Linked DNA regions of Homo sapiens: region 1 is linked to region 2. The links are contacts of gene promoters, found by promoter capture Hi-C in human tissues and cell types (Jung and others, 2019). All regions are on one chromosome and are shown on one strand. The core of a region is centred on a gene start or on the middle of the fragment in contact, and the rest is flanking DNA. Distances in the headings are between cores, read along the strand shown.

What was found. The method cuts DNA at HindIII sites, captures the fragments that hold promoters and counts their contacts. A contact is called where the count stands out against the background at its distance.
Region 1: a contact is called between a fragment that was not itself captured here and the fragment with the promoter of PSD2 in region 2, in 3 of the 25 tissues and cell types used here (adrenal gland, bladder and heart left ventricle).

The regions. Positions count from the first base shown.
Region 1 is chr5:139,885,214-139,892,261 of GRCh38, reverse strand. It overlaps NRG2 (neuregulin 2), which reads left to right. Exons shown (of 10, transcript NM_004883.3): 2 at 4,751-4,922. Among named protein-coding and RNA genes, the nearest start is that of PSD2, 93 kb to the right of the region's middle. The HindIII fragment of the contact is 4,447 bases long and covers 3,041-7,048 here.
Region 2 is chr5:139,793,184-139,799,539 of GRCh38, reverse strand. PSD2 (pleckstrin and Sec7 domain containing 2) reads right to left here and starts at 3,732. Exons shown (of 15, transcript NM_032289.4): 1 at 3,565-3,732. RefSeq lists a silencer at 4,014-4,213. The HindIII fragment of the contact is 20,038 bases long and covers 1-6,356 here.

The sequences.
Region 1 (7,048 bases), core at 4,015-6,514, 91 kb before region 2:
ACAGAAAACCTGGCAGGGCTCTAGGCCCAGGAGTGCGGATGTGGAGGACATTGTTCCGAGGCCATCTGGTGTACATTCTTCTCTTTCCTGCCACCTGAGCTGCTGCCACTGCCCCCTGACCCCAAGGAACTTTCCTACAAGGTTTGCCCAACCCTGGCTTTCAACTTTCAAATCACTGCAAACTAGGATTGCCTGTGAGCAAAGACCAGGACTTGCAGCTGCTAGAGCAGGAGGCATGGCTTTTAGCATCACAGATGATTCCGAGGAACCGTTAAGAGCTATAAAAGAAAACTCTGTAAAGAACGTGGCATGATTCAAATGTATGGTTATTTTTATTTTGTCATCCTTTAAACCAGGGCTGTCCAATAGAAATATAATGCAATCCACATATGTAATTTAAAAATTTCTAGTAGGCACATAAATAGTTTTTTTTTAATGTACAAAATAAATCCAGACTTCTCATCCTGGCTTGCACAGCCCCATGTCAACCTGGGCCCTACCTACCTCTCCAGGCTCCCCTCAGACCCTGCCCATCTTCTACTATCTTCCAGCCATATAGGCCTCTTTTGGCCCCATGAACTCATCAAGCTCATTCCCACCTTAGGGTCTTTATCCAGCTGCTTTTTTTTTTTAACTGTCTCATATTTCCTGTTGATGTTTTGTTTATTGTCCCCCTCACTAAAATTCAGGCTCCCTAACAGTAGGATGCTTATTTCTTGGTATGGTTGAATGAATGAATGAATTCATTTGGAATGAACTGAATAAATGAATAAGGAACAGGTGAACTAGATAGGGTTGTTCTGAAGTGAGTGGACTATCCAGAAATGGCTACTGAGTCACACAAGGTTCTCACTAGATGGAGTGGGCTCCCTGTGATCTGAAATGCGGTCCTGTGTTTTCCATTGGTGGCCGGCGATTACTTTGGAGCTCTCAGTTCCTCAGGCCCTCTGAATTAGGGCCATGCCTACTGTTTCTGGGAGCAGTCTCTATGCAACACATCCCCCTAGCCCATCACCATCACCACTAAGCAGTGGCCACAGGCTCAGTGCATAATACAGCACTGGAACTCATGTCAGGAACCAAGGTGGTAGAGTAACCCCTGCTTCCTCCCACCAGCGGCCACCGCCATCCCCCACCATCTTGTTGGGAGGGAAGTGGCTCATGATGGTGGAGACAGGCAGTTCCCTTGTCTCTGAGTTGCAAGAAAAGTCAACACACTCCAAGTGAGGTAAGGGGAAACTTTAGCACCTGATAAGAGCTCTCTGTGTTGTGTCCCCAGTTCATAAGAAAGGAGAAGGGACTAGTTGGAGGTCATCACTTGACCAAGAGGTTAGATCATCACCAGGTGTCAACCCAATCTTAGCACAAAGCCACCTGTGCATATGTGTTCAGTTTGTAACCAGTCATTGAGCTATATACACTTATAATATGTGCACTTTCCTGAATGTATGTTACATTTCCAAAAATAAAGGAACACACCTGAAGAGCCCTTTAGAACCCACAACCCGAACCCACACTCACAGCTTCTGCTTCAGAATGCCTAGGATATGTCCCAGGTACCTGACTTGTAAAGCTTCCCATGTGATTCCGATTAGCATCCAGGGTTAAGACCTAACATAAGCAATGACTGGGGACTCCAGAGCAGATGCAGGAGGGAGGGAGGTGGGTAAGGGAAGGAAGATAAAGCAGGATTTCAGTCACACTTAGAATAATGAAGTTCCAAAAAGTCCAACAGATTGTTAGATTGATGCACATAGAATCTCTGGGTGCCAAAAAAAAAAAAAAAAAGAAAGAAAGAAAGAAAGAAAAGAAAAGAAAAAGACGAAGAAGAAGAACCAGCAATATAAAAAAAGCAGGTAACTGAGGGGAAAAAACTTTGTAGCAAAAGGTTAATAGCCTTAATATTTATAAAAAGTTCTTACAAATCACTAGGATGAGCACTCGATAGGAAAACAGACTGCATGCATGAACAGGCAATTCAAAAAGAAGAAATACAATGGGCCAATACACTCATGAAAAATGTTCAGCCTCATCAGTAATCAAATAAATGCAAATTAAAATGACAAAGAGACGTTATCTTTTGCCTAGCTAATTGGCAAAGATTAAAGACATGATAATACCTCGTGTTGGTGAGTGTGTGGAAAAAACAGGCACTGTCATTCACTGGGGGGAGCGCAAATTGGTGCAACCTTTCCAAAGGGCAATTTGGCAATGTACAAAGCTGAGAAAGATTGCATACCTTCTGACGCAGCAATTCCACTTTTAGGAAGATCGCCTTAGGAAATAATTGTGAATAATAATAATAATAGCTAACCTTTGTTAAATGCTCTCTATGTGCCAGGCTCTACATGCATTGTCTCATATAATCCTCACAGCCATCATCCCAAGAGGTAAGAGCTATTATTTATCTCCTGTATTTTACAGCTGTGGAAGTTGAGGCGCAAACGAATGAAGTTAATTCTTGGACACAAATCTAACAAGTAGCAAAGTCTGGATTGAAAGCCAGACAGCCTGAGTCTAGAGCCATCCTCCCCCATACAGCAGTATACATGGGGTGTGTGCAAAGATAAAGCTGCAAGGATGTTCTTTTGGGGTTGTTTGTAATGGGAAGGGGGAGGGGGCATGCTAAATGTTCCACACAGGAATCAGTTACATAAGTTATGATACACCCATACAGGAACATTATGCAACCATGAAAAATGATGCTGTAAGAAAAACTGAGTGTGTGAATACTCGGGGGTGCGGGATTTGTATATGCATAAAATATTTCTGAAAGGAGGTCAAAGGAACCCATAAGATTGATTATCTCCTAGAAAGACAACTGTGTGGTTGTGGCCAGAAGTTAGAGAGAGACTTGTTTTTTAATCCATATACCTCTTTTCACTTCTTGAATTTTGAATCATGTTAATATCTGTCAAAATATATGTTTATATATATATATTCAATGGAATCATTGTTGAAATATATATATACACAAACAAATACACATATAAGTCATAGAATTTGTTCCACATAACTTTCATTTCCTTGAAATGCTACCAAGAGTTCCAAGAAAAAAGGTTTCAAGGCCCCCACTTAGAGAACGATACTGAAGTTGATAGATACTTCTTTAACTATGCTTAACCCACATGCTCTCCAAACCCATTTTCCCATGGAACCCTCTTGTCAAGTAATATCTGTTTTCATCTCTCCAGATACTCCTGCTTATAGAATACACTTTGGGAAATGCTATTATTAATATTTAACACCCAGGCGAAAGGGTTACACTGTTTCATTAAATGAAAGAATACATAGAGCCTGGCACATAGAGAGCATTTAACAAAGGTTAGCTATTATTGTTATTATTATCCACAAATGGCATTGATTCCATTTTGTTTAAAAATGGGGGGAGGTGTTATTTATGAGTATGGAGACAAAGGAAGGTTTTGTTTTCTTCTTTTTTCACTCCTCTGTATTTTTTCATTTTCTAAAATGAACAAAATTATTTTACGAGAATCATTGTGTAAGCCTACGTCATACATTTTTAAAGTCTTCCTTTCTGTGCTTCCTCTGTGCCCTGTGCCCCTCTCATCTACTCCCTGCGTATATGCAGCAGCTCAGGGTGAAGTTCAATGAGGGGACCCCTGTTCTAGCCAGGCCCTCTTGCCTGCCTTTCTCCAGAGCCAGCTCTGGCCCATTGTCAGCACTCTGAGTTGCTAGGGAAAGGACCAATGGCCGAGACAGGGCCAATCAGTTCCCAGACAACTCCCTGGCTCCAACAGACCCTCCCTTCTGCTACTGGAAGGCTTTTAACCATCTCACAGAGAGAAATAAGACCACAAAATCAGACACCATCCTGCTACCAGCCTAACACGTGGCAAATCTTGATACCTGAGCTTTGGTCCCAGCTCTGTGGCTGCCTGGCTATGTGGCTTCAGGCAAGTTTCTTCACCTCTCTGAGTCTCATCTGCACCATCAGTGTCAGTATGACACTGCCTCACAGAGGTCAGGGACCAAACGAGAGCCTGCATGAAGGCTTTGTGTATCCTGTAAGGGACTATCCCACTGGAAATTGTTATACACCTCAGCACGAGCACTGGCTTAGCCTCATCTTCCTGAGAAGAGAGTACTTTCTCTTTCAGGGTGTGTGTGTGTGTGTGTGTGTGTTGTTTTGTTTTGTATTTTGGTGGTGGGGAGAGGAGCAAGGAAGTGAAGCATGGGAGACTGGGGCATGCGGAAATAGAATGGCGTTTAAGAAAAATGGGGACAGCCTCTCAGCTTGGCATTTGCAGCTTTGCATCCGTGATTGGGCCTGAGCCCACCAGTACAGCCCCATGGCTTGTTACCCATGATTTTAGATCCTGAGCACTGATGTCAAGGAGATCTGTGTTTGAATCCCAGTTCCATCATCTGCCCTTAGGGAAGTGACTTCACCATTCCGAGCCTCTGTTTCCCCATCTGTAAGTGGGTTTAACCATTGCTGTGAGCTCATGGGGTTACTGTGAAGGTTTCATAAGCTAATGTAAAGCTTCATACCATTCAAGGCATGAAGGAAACTCTCCATAAGTTATAACTACATTGATGTCATCACAGACTCATTATAAATGCTTATTGAATTGAACTAGGAAATGACACTAGGAGGGGTGGCTCTCAGGATCACCCTTCCCTTCCCCAGTTCCAGCCCAAAGACAGTGGCCCTTACTCTCCACTACTCATGCTTGGCACTGCCCCTACCACCACCGTGCTCACCTACCTGCCTTGTAACCCACAGCCACCCGGCCCAAGTTGAAGAAGATGAAGAGCCAGACGGGACAGGTGGGTGAGAAGCAATCGCTGAAGTGTGAGGCAGCAGCCGGTAATCCCCAGCCTTCCTACCGTTGGTTCAAGGATGGCAAGGAGCTCAACCGCAGCCGAGACATTCGCATCAAATATGGCAACGGCAGGTAAGCAATATCCAGCCTGTCCTCCATCCAAGCAGCTGCCCTCCCTCCTCTCGAGAAGGAGTGGCCTGAACTGGGCAGAGGCCAGGGCTGTGCCCCCAGACTCACCCATGGAACCAGTCCCAGCCCCTCTCCATACTCCCCTTCCTTGCCACTCCCAGCCTTCTTCCTGCAGCTCGGGGACCCTCTGGTCATGGTGGCCCAGGGTCTTGCAGACCACAGACAAGAATTAAGCCTTTAACTTCTCTGGATAGTTGAAGGCAATTTGACTGTCACAGTCAGCTTGATCAGTGGAAGACCCTGCTCATCTCTAAAACTTCTTGAAAAACCTGCTGTAGCGTCTGAAAGCCCCAACATTTGGCAATCTTTGGTGAAAGACCCTGACTCCAGAATGCCTCTGGGAGGTCACACATGATGGGCTGGTTTCTCAGCTTAGCAAGCTGTCAGTTGTCAGAGAGCTAGGTAAGGGAAAAGGGAGCAACACTTTGATTGGTGTTGGAGAACTCTGTTCCTCAGACGGTTTCCCCCTAAAAGTTGAGAATTGTCTTTAATCCTGAATCAGTGCTCCAGGGAAGTGAATCAGAGAAGTTCCCTGAGTCTCTAGGCTATGGGAGATGGCCTGTCTTCCATCTTGGCTGGGTCAGGCAGGGGGCTTCTGGCACCAGAGAAGCCGCTAGTCCAAGGCAGCCCACCACCTCTCTGCTGCCTCTCAAGGAGAAGCAAGGGGGAAAACCCCTGCCTGCCAGCTAAACAGGCATTCTACCTGATGTCTGCTCTGTTGGCTCCGGGGACCTAGTGGCCTTCCCTCTCTGACTGAGGAGCTCCCAAACCTTTTCTACCCTCCCTCCCAGAGTAGCTTACAACCACTCCTTTCCTGGCTGTCATTTTCCTCCTCACCGCCCCACCACACACACAAAATGCAAATTAGGATGGTTTTAGAGCACACCAGCCTGCCCACAACAAAAAGTGGTAGAAGGCCAGGGCTGGGCAGGCTGCTTGGGTTTGCCATGTGGGGCTGGATGTCCATGCCCTGCCTCTGGCCCTCAGACTCTGGAACCTGTAAAAGAGGTTAAAGGAGTCAGGGGACTGGGAGTTACTTCCAGTTCTCTGATTCTCCTTCCAAGAATGGGGAGCAGAAGTAAAACTGATCACTCAAGAAAATGATCCTGGCAGAAAACAGAATGTAATTAAGGAAGAGTTTGGCTTAGATCAAAGGTTTGTGGCTGAAAGAATGCCGCTTCCTAAGGAACTTGCCATGGCCAGTGGCGAGTGGGGGGTTCTATATGTCCCTTGTCTACAGCATTGGCAAGAAGCTCTGGCTGCCCACCCAGCCCACCTTCCGAGACCACCCCACCCCTTCTCACTGCCCTACCAAGGCTGCTTCCAAGCTGGAGAGAATGGGCAGGCTTCTTGGAGCTGGGGCAGTTGGGTCCCGTCTCCCTCCTATCCTTTCTTTCTAGAAGATGGTTTCTCCCCTACTTCACTGCAGTGACGAAAGTCAGGAGAGCCCCCCTTTCCCTCCTCATGGCTCCCAAACATGTCTACAACCTGCCTATCATCATCCCACCCTACCTGGTGCCACACACTCATACTCACCCTCCCTCCCGCACATTCCCCCCCACCACACACACACACCCACAGAGCCCTGGTACCACCAACTCACTCCTTTCTCTGGTAACTTCAGCTTTCTCTCCCTACCAACAAACCCACGCCCGTGACTTTTTTTCTCAAATGCTGTCCCTCCACGCTGCTGCTCCCCTGGCCCTCCAGCGGTTGCCCCATCTCACTTCCGCCCTCCACCACCATATGAAGTCACTGAGGGAGCTAGCCTCATGCCCACTGACTGCGCACTCTCGTCCTCCACTCACTCTTTGACCTGCTGGAATCTGCCCTTCAGTTACATCCCAACCTCTCGATGGCTGTGGTCCTGGAGAAACCGCAGTTATCTTTGCACTTCCTGGCTCAGGCCTCCAGGCCTCTCAGCGGCCTCGGCCTGGGAATACCTGCTCCCCGGGCCCTGTGGTGCTCCTCCTAGTCTTGCTGTGAGTCTGGACACTGTCTCTTAGTTGCCATCAATGCTGGAACTTTCCTGAGCTTTGGGCCTCACTATTTTCTTTCCTCCCTTTCCG
Region 2 (6,356 bases), core at 2,483-4,982:
GAAGTGCCCTTGGGGAAAAGGCCAACCCCTCAGCCCACATTCCAGGCTAGCTGTGGCCTGGGCCTCCCTTCCTGTCTGGCCCCCATGCCCTCTCCCCTTGCTGTGCCTCTCACTACTTTCTCTGGGCTTCCCCTCTCCCCCACCAACAGCACCTGTCTGAGTTGTGGCTCCCCCACTCCCAACCCTGAAGTTTTGAGCTCCCTGAAAGTTTCTGTCTGCTTCTCTATTCTCCAGCATCTGGTCTGATGTAGGGGTTCAGTCAGATTTGCTGACCTGGTGCGCAGATTACCAGGTAGATGAAGCTTCTGGAGGTAGGGAAGGGGGAGGAACAGAATTGAAATACAGGGACCCCTGAGCCAAGTGACCTAACTTACCACCACCTACTACAGGACAAACTAATAACAGGTGCCTGCCAATATCATGCACTGAGAAGGACATGACATCATCTATGAGATATTCTTGCCCCAAAATGGTTAACTTGACTCTAATCACAAGCAAGCAAGAAGACAAATCCAGGATGTGAGACGTATCACAAGCCTTCCAAATTGACAATGTCATTAAAAAAAATCTCAAAAAAGCCAGGGATTCATCCAGATTGAAACACTAAAGAGCCATAATAACTAAATGCAATGTATGTTCCATGATCAAATTAAAAAAAACAGCTATAAAGGACTTTACTGAGACAACTAGAGAAATTTAAATATGGACTACATGTTAGGTTAAACTGGATGATTACTAAACTTCTTGGGTATGATAACAATGCATTATTTTTGTAGAAAAATGTCCCTGTCTCAGGAAATTCATGCTGAAGTATTTAGAGGTGAAGTGTTATAATGTTGGCAACTTACTTTCAAAAGATTGAGAGAGAGAGAGAAAGAGAGAGAGAGAGAAACAAATGTGGCAAAATGTTAACAACTGGCAAATCTAGGTCTCTAGGTGAAGGGTATGTAGGTGGGTGTTCACTATACTATCAGCTTTGACAAGATAAAAAGTAAGGTGGGAGAAGGAAGGGAGTGGAGGGAGACGTTCCAAAGAGGGGAGCTCAGGGGTTGGAATTTTGGGGCAGGAGTCAGAGGAGAGGACATTCCTTCCCCAGGGCAGTCCACAAACCTGAGCATGCAGAGCTGTGGGCCAGCCCACAGGCCAGCCCAGGCCAGGCAGGCACAGCGCTGGAGTGGCTTACCACCTGAAAAGGGGGCCAGACCCTGAGGAAACGGACTCACCTGTGGGCAAGCCGGCTTAGAGGGACAAGGAAAACAAGCTGGTCCCAGGGAGACCAGGGCAGGAACATGGGCCCCTCCCCCTCCATTGAGCTGTGGCAAGGAGCCAGGTCTGGCCCCAAGCCCACCCAACTCCCCCAAACACCCCTCAAGGGGCGACAGCCTAAGTGTATCCTCCTGTTTGGAGAGCCAGTCTAAATACGGAGCCTCAGACATAAGATGCCGCTCAAAACAGATTTTCCTGGAAAAGACCATCTGGCAAAGGAGGTCTAGAGCATCGTCTGTTGTGAGAGGCAGTGTTGATCTCCTGCAAGCCAACGTCCGGAATGGGAATGCCTTGATCCCACCTCCCTAGGAAACTACAGCTTAGTGCTTGTTTTTCCCAAGGTCACCCTCTTGCCCAGATGGAGAGACACTCTATCCCACCTCCCACCTCTCTCCTAAATTGTGTCTCCAGGGAAGAAGAGGAGAGGATGGGGACACAGGTCTGAGTATCAGACAGTTCTGGCCAAGTGCAAATCCTCACTCTGCCACTTACTAACCAGGAGACTTTGAACAAACAGCTCTACCACAAAATGGGAATAAGGGTAGTGCCTCCCTCTAAAGACTGTTATGAGGGTACTTAGCACATATGCTCCATATGTGGAAGCTAGGTGAGGTAATACCCCCCAGCCACACTCTCTCTCTCAGTCCTGTCTAGAGCAGGAAGTCATTCCTTCCAGCTATCTTTGCTCTCTCCCTTCAGGGAAGACCCTGGGAGGCACTATTTGTCAGGTCTGCTTGTGGAGCGTGCACCCCATAGTTGTCAGACCAGGACAAGCTGCAGCGGGGAGGCCTCTGGGGGCATCCCTGGGCTGCAGGGTGCAATTCACCCAAGCATTGAGACTTCAACCTTGCAAGAGGCACCAGTGAGGGAGGCCTTCCAAGGACAACCCAGTCATCCTCCTTTAGCTGGGCCACACCCACCTACTCACCCCACTGCGTGGGAATCTTTTGGGGGCTCTGGCCAAACCCTAGGGACCTGCTATGTTTCCACCAGGACCAAACTTTGCAGTAGCCCCACTCAAAAGCCCCTGTTCCCTGCTTCCCGCATATATTGGGGAAAGGGGCTGCTGGGAGGACAGCAGGCACATTTTACTGATTCGGAGATCCCAGGCCCCAGAACTTGTAGCTTCCCTGGGAGACAGGTTCCTAAAGTCCTGGGGAGAGGGTGGAAGAATGAAAGAACGACTGCAACTGCCCTGGGCCACGGGTTGGGTTTGGAGGCAGTCCCAGCCCAGTGAACCCCCCCACCCCCAACCACTATTAAGCAGCTCTTGTTTGTAGGATCTAGAAAAAGGAACTGGGGAACCCAGGAAAGTCCAAACCCAGGCTGCCCACCTGCCCTGGCCAAATCCTGAGCCCTCTCGCTGATCCCCATCAAATTCAGCCTGGCTTATCCCCAGGCTGCCAGGAGTCTTAGGCCCTCTTCCATTGTGACTGCTGCTTCTGCTCCCTGTTCTCTTCCTGGCCCCCCCAAGATGGCCCCAAGACAAAGGGGTGGGCTTGAGACAGTGGCCCCCTGGGCCTATGCAAAAACAATGCCCCCAGTGATCATTCCGGGGAGTCCCTGCATCCTCTAGGAACAGCTGAATACCTCCTCCTCCGAGGGGGCCCGCTGGGCAGGGTTGTCCCCAGTCTGGACTCCCTCTGCACCCAGCCCCAGCAGCCCGCTCCTGGGACCCCTCCCTCCCGCTGCCGCCTCGGCCATTATGTGCCTCCTCAGCCCTGACTGCCACGCCCCCGTGCGAGCCCCCGCTCTAGCTGCAGAGCCGGGGAGGCCTGGCCGCCAAGCAGGGCTGTCAAAGTTGGGAAACTGGAAACAGAAATAAATCCTCAAAGCTGCAGCCTCGTGAAGGTGGCTGCCGGCAGGCCCCGGTACCCAATGCCCCGATCCCCGACCACCAGGCTGCCACTGGCACCCCCCACGCACACGCGTACCCCCAGATTATACAAAAGCGGGGAGAGGGTAGTGGGTGGCGGAGCCGGGAGACAATCGGCCCGGCAGCCCCCACCGTCCCTCAGGCTGGGCTCGGGCTTTCCCGCGGCGCCCCCTCTCCCCGGCCCAGACCCGGCCAGCCCGGGCTTCCTCTCTCGGCCCCATCTCCATGACAACCGTATCCTTCGGATGCTCCAGACGCCGCGGAATTGATCTGGAAATGTAGCTTTGTTAGCGGACCCGGGTGGGCACCGAGGGCGAGGGCGACGCCCCCCACCCGCACGCGGCCCTCTCCCCGGCCCGTCCCGCCCCGGCCTGGCCGCCAGCGGGGAGGGGCGGGTCCCGGAGCCCCGCGGCCCCACTCACCGCTGCTGGTCCCCGCCGCGGGTCCGGCCTCTCACGGCGGGGCCATCGGAGGCCGCCGGGCTGCCTGTCCCGCCCCGCCGCCGCCGGTCGGAGCTGCCCGCGCCCGCCCGCGTCCCTTCAGGTGCCGGAGCCGCGATGTGGAGAGGCTGAGCGAGGGGGACGGACGGCAGGAGGGAGGGAGCGGAGCCGTGAGCTGGAGGAGGAGGAGGAGGGAGGAGCGGGAAGGGCGGGGAAGGGCGGGGGCACTGCGGGCGCGCGAGCGGCGGGCGCGGAGCCCGGAGGGAAGCGCGGCCCCCAGCCCTGTCCGCTTGCAGCGCAGCGCTCGCCCCGGGACCCCGAGCGTGCCGGGGAGAGCGCGGCCCACCTTGTCCCCCTCTGCCCCGCGCGGGCCCTTTAAGAAAGGGGGGGAGGGGAGCGCCCGGGGTTCTGCCCCCTCCTAGCCACGCTGGGCCCCTGCCGTCCTCGAACCCTCGGGCAGACCCAACCACCTCCGCCCTCCAGGCAGGACCCACCGGTCTAGAACCTGAGCTCTCGGGACCCGCCAGGCCCTGGAGGTGAAGGAGGGGGCGGGTCCTGGCCCTCCTCCCGCGGTCTGTTCAGGGAGTGACCCCTGCCCCCAGCCCCCCGACACACACGCCAGCCCCCGGGAGACGCCGCCAAGGGAGGAGCAGGGAGTGCGGGGGGCCAAGGTGAAGAATCTCAGAGAGGGAGACTGAGCCCCTGAGACCTAGAGTCACACGGGACGGGACGGAGACCTGGGCTGTGGGGTGAGAAGGAGCCTCGGGACAGAGTGGGATGGGAGGAGGCAGGAGAGAGGAGAAAGAGACAAAGGAGAAAGAACCTGAGGGAGGCGGGAGGTGAGGGGTGGGTCCAACCAAGAATCCACATCCCTGTGCCAGGTCAAGGGGAAGCCTCCCTGGGCAGATATAAGGAGACAGAGAGAGACAGAGGGTGCCCTGGGCAGAGGAAACCATCTCCCAAGGCACCTGTCCCACGGTGTCTCCCCAAGGGCAAGTCAAGGCCCTGAAGCCGCCCCCCTCAGCCCAGGACTCTAACTGAAGAAGAGGGTTGACTGGCTGTACCTGGGCTAGACATTAAGAACTTCCTGGCTGTGAGGCACCTGCAGAGTAAGAGTCCGCCTCTCAGAGAGGCATTAAAGGGCCCCCACCCACAGGGATCTAAGGAGGGCGTGGGGAGCAGGCCCAGTGCCTGGGAGAAGGGAAATCAGGATAGAGTCAGGCCCTGCCACTGGAGGCCACTTTCTACCCCTCTCCCCTACTCCAGCCCCTGGGGGGTTCACCACACCCAGTTGCTTCCATCTCCAGACCTCAGCAGATGATCCACACTCTGCCCGGTGGGGCCTTGATCCTGCTGTGCTCAGTGAACTCCTACTGAACCCTCAAATTCCTCCTTAAATGCCCCTTCCTTCATGAAGTCTTCTCTGACCTTCTTTCCACCCATGAACACACAAACATGGACTCTTCTTAGGGAGCAGGAAGAGGATTTGCTGACCTCTTAGGGTGGCAGTAATTGGAGGTGTGGAATCTGAGCTGTGCGTAGTCTCCCTCCCTTCAAGCTGGGCAACAGCAGGAGCTGGGACTTCATCAACCATGGTGACACCTCTGACAACCAAGCATCTACCAAGTGCTCTTCATGTGTCATATTTAATTCTCAAAACAATCCTACAACCCGTTTTACAGATGAGAAAACTGAGACTTGGAGAGCATAAGTCACTTGCTCATGATCCCAGGAGATCTGAATCTGTGAGCACAGCTGGTCAATTAAGAGGGCACTCAGACCACATCCTTCACTGCCCATCAAACCCTAGGACATTACCGCAGAGCCCAGAAACAAGGGAGCCACTCTCTGTGCAGGTGCCCAGGATCTTAAAGGGCACAGAGGGAGCTTGGCTTCCCTGCTGTCCTGCATTCTACCCCCCTGCCCTCTGCTACCTGTAGGCAGAGAAGGGTGGCGACCAGCAGGGGCTGTGGAGGGAAGTGCTCATGGCAGGGCTTAGATACCACATTCCCCACCCTTGGCACCCATGCCCTCAAGTCACAGCTGGACCACCTTTCTGGGCTCCTACTTCCTCATCTGCCCAATGAGGATGGTAGCAGTCCCCCTCTTTGTGAGGCTAGGATGGGGACCGAAAGAGCTGATGTGCTCAAGACCTGGCACACAGATGCACTCAATGGGCCATGGCTGTTCCAGCTGTAATGATTACTTACTCATGGAATGCACTATTTAATTGTTGTCCACTGGATGGACTCTGAGCCCCTTGAAAGGGTTCACAGTGTATCCTCAGCACCTAACACTCAGCATGGCTTAATAAATTATGTGGAAGGAAAGAACAGGGAAAGGGGAAAGGTAGACATAGCTGTCTCTCCAGCTAACTTGCGCTGGGCTGGCACACAGAACCTAGTCTCTGCCCCCTGGATCTGCCCCCTGTCCTTTGTAGCTCTGGGAGCCTGTGGCAGGGGCAAGGAGACCCGGGTTCTAGTCCAGTCCCCCCAACCCACACTTCCTAGCTGTGTGGCTATGGGCAGCTGTACCCTTTCCTGAACCTTCCTTTCCCCTCCGTCAAGTGGAACTAGCTCCCTAGGGCTCAGAGGGCTGCCTGGAGGCCACAGGTGAGCTCTGTGTGAGTGTTCTGGGTGCCATGGACACTGGAGAGGGGAGTATTGTTACTGTTCCTTGTGGCTACCTTCGCCTCCTGAAAGACAGCAGGGTCAGGCTGGGAATGGTGGCTCACGCCTGTAATCCCAACACTTTGGGAGGCCAAAGTGGGTTGG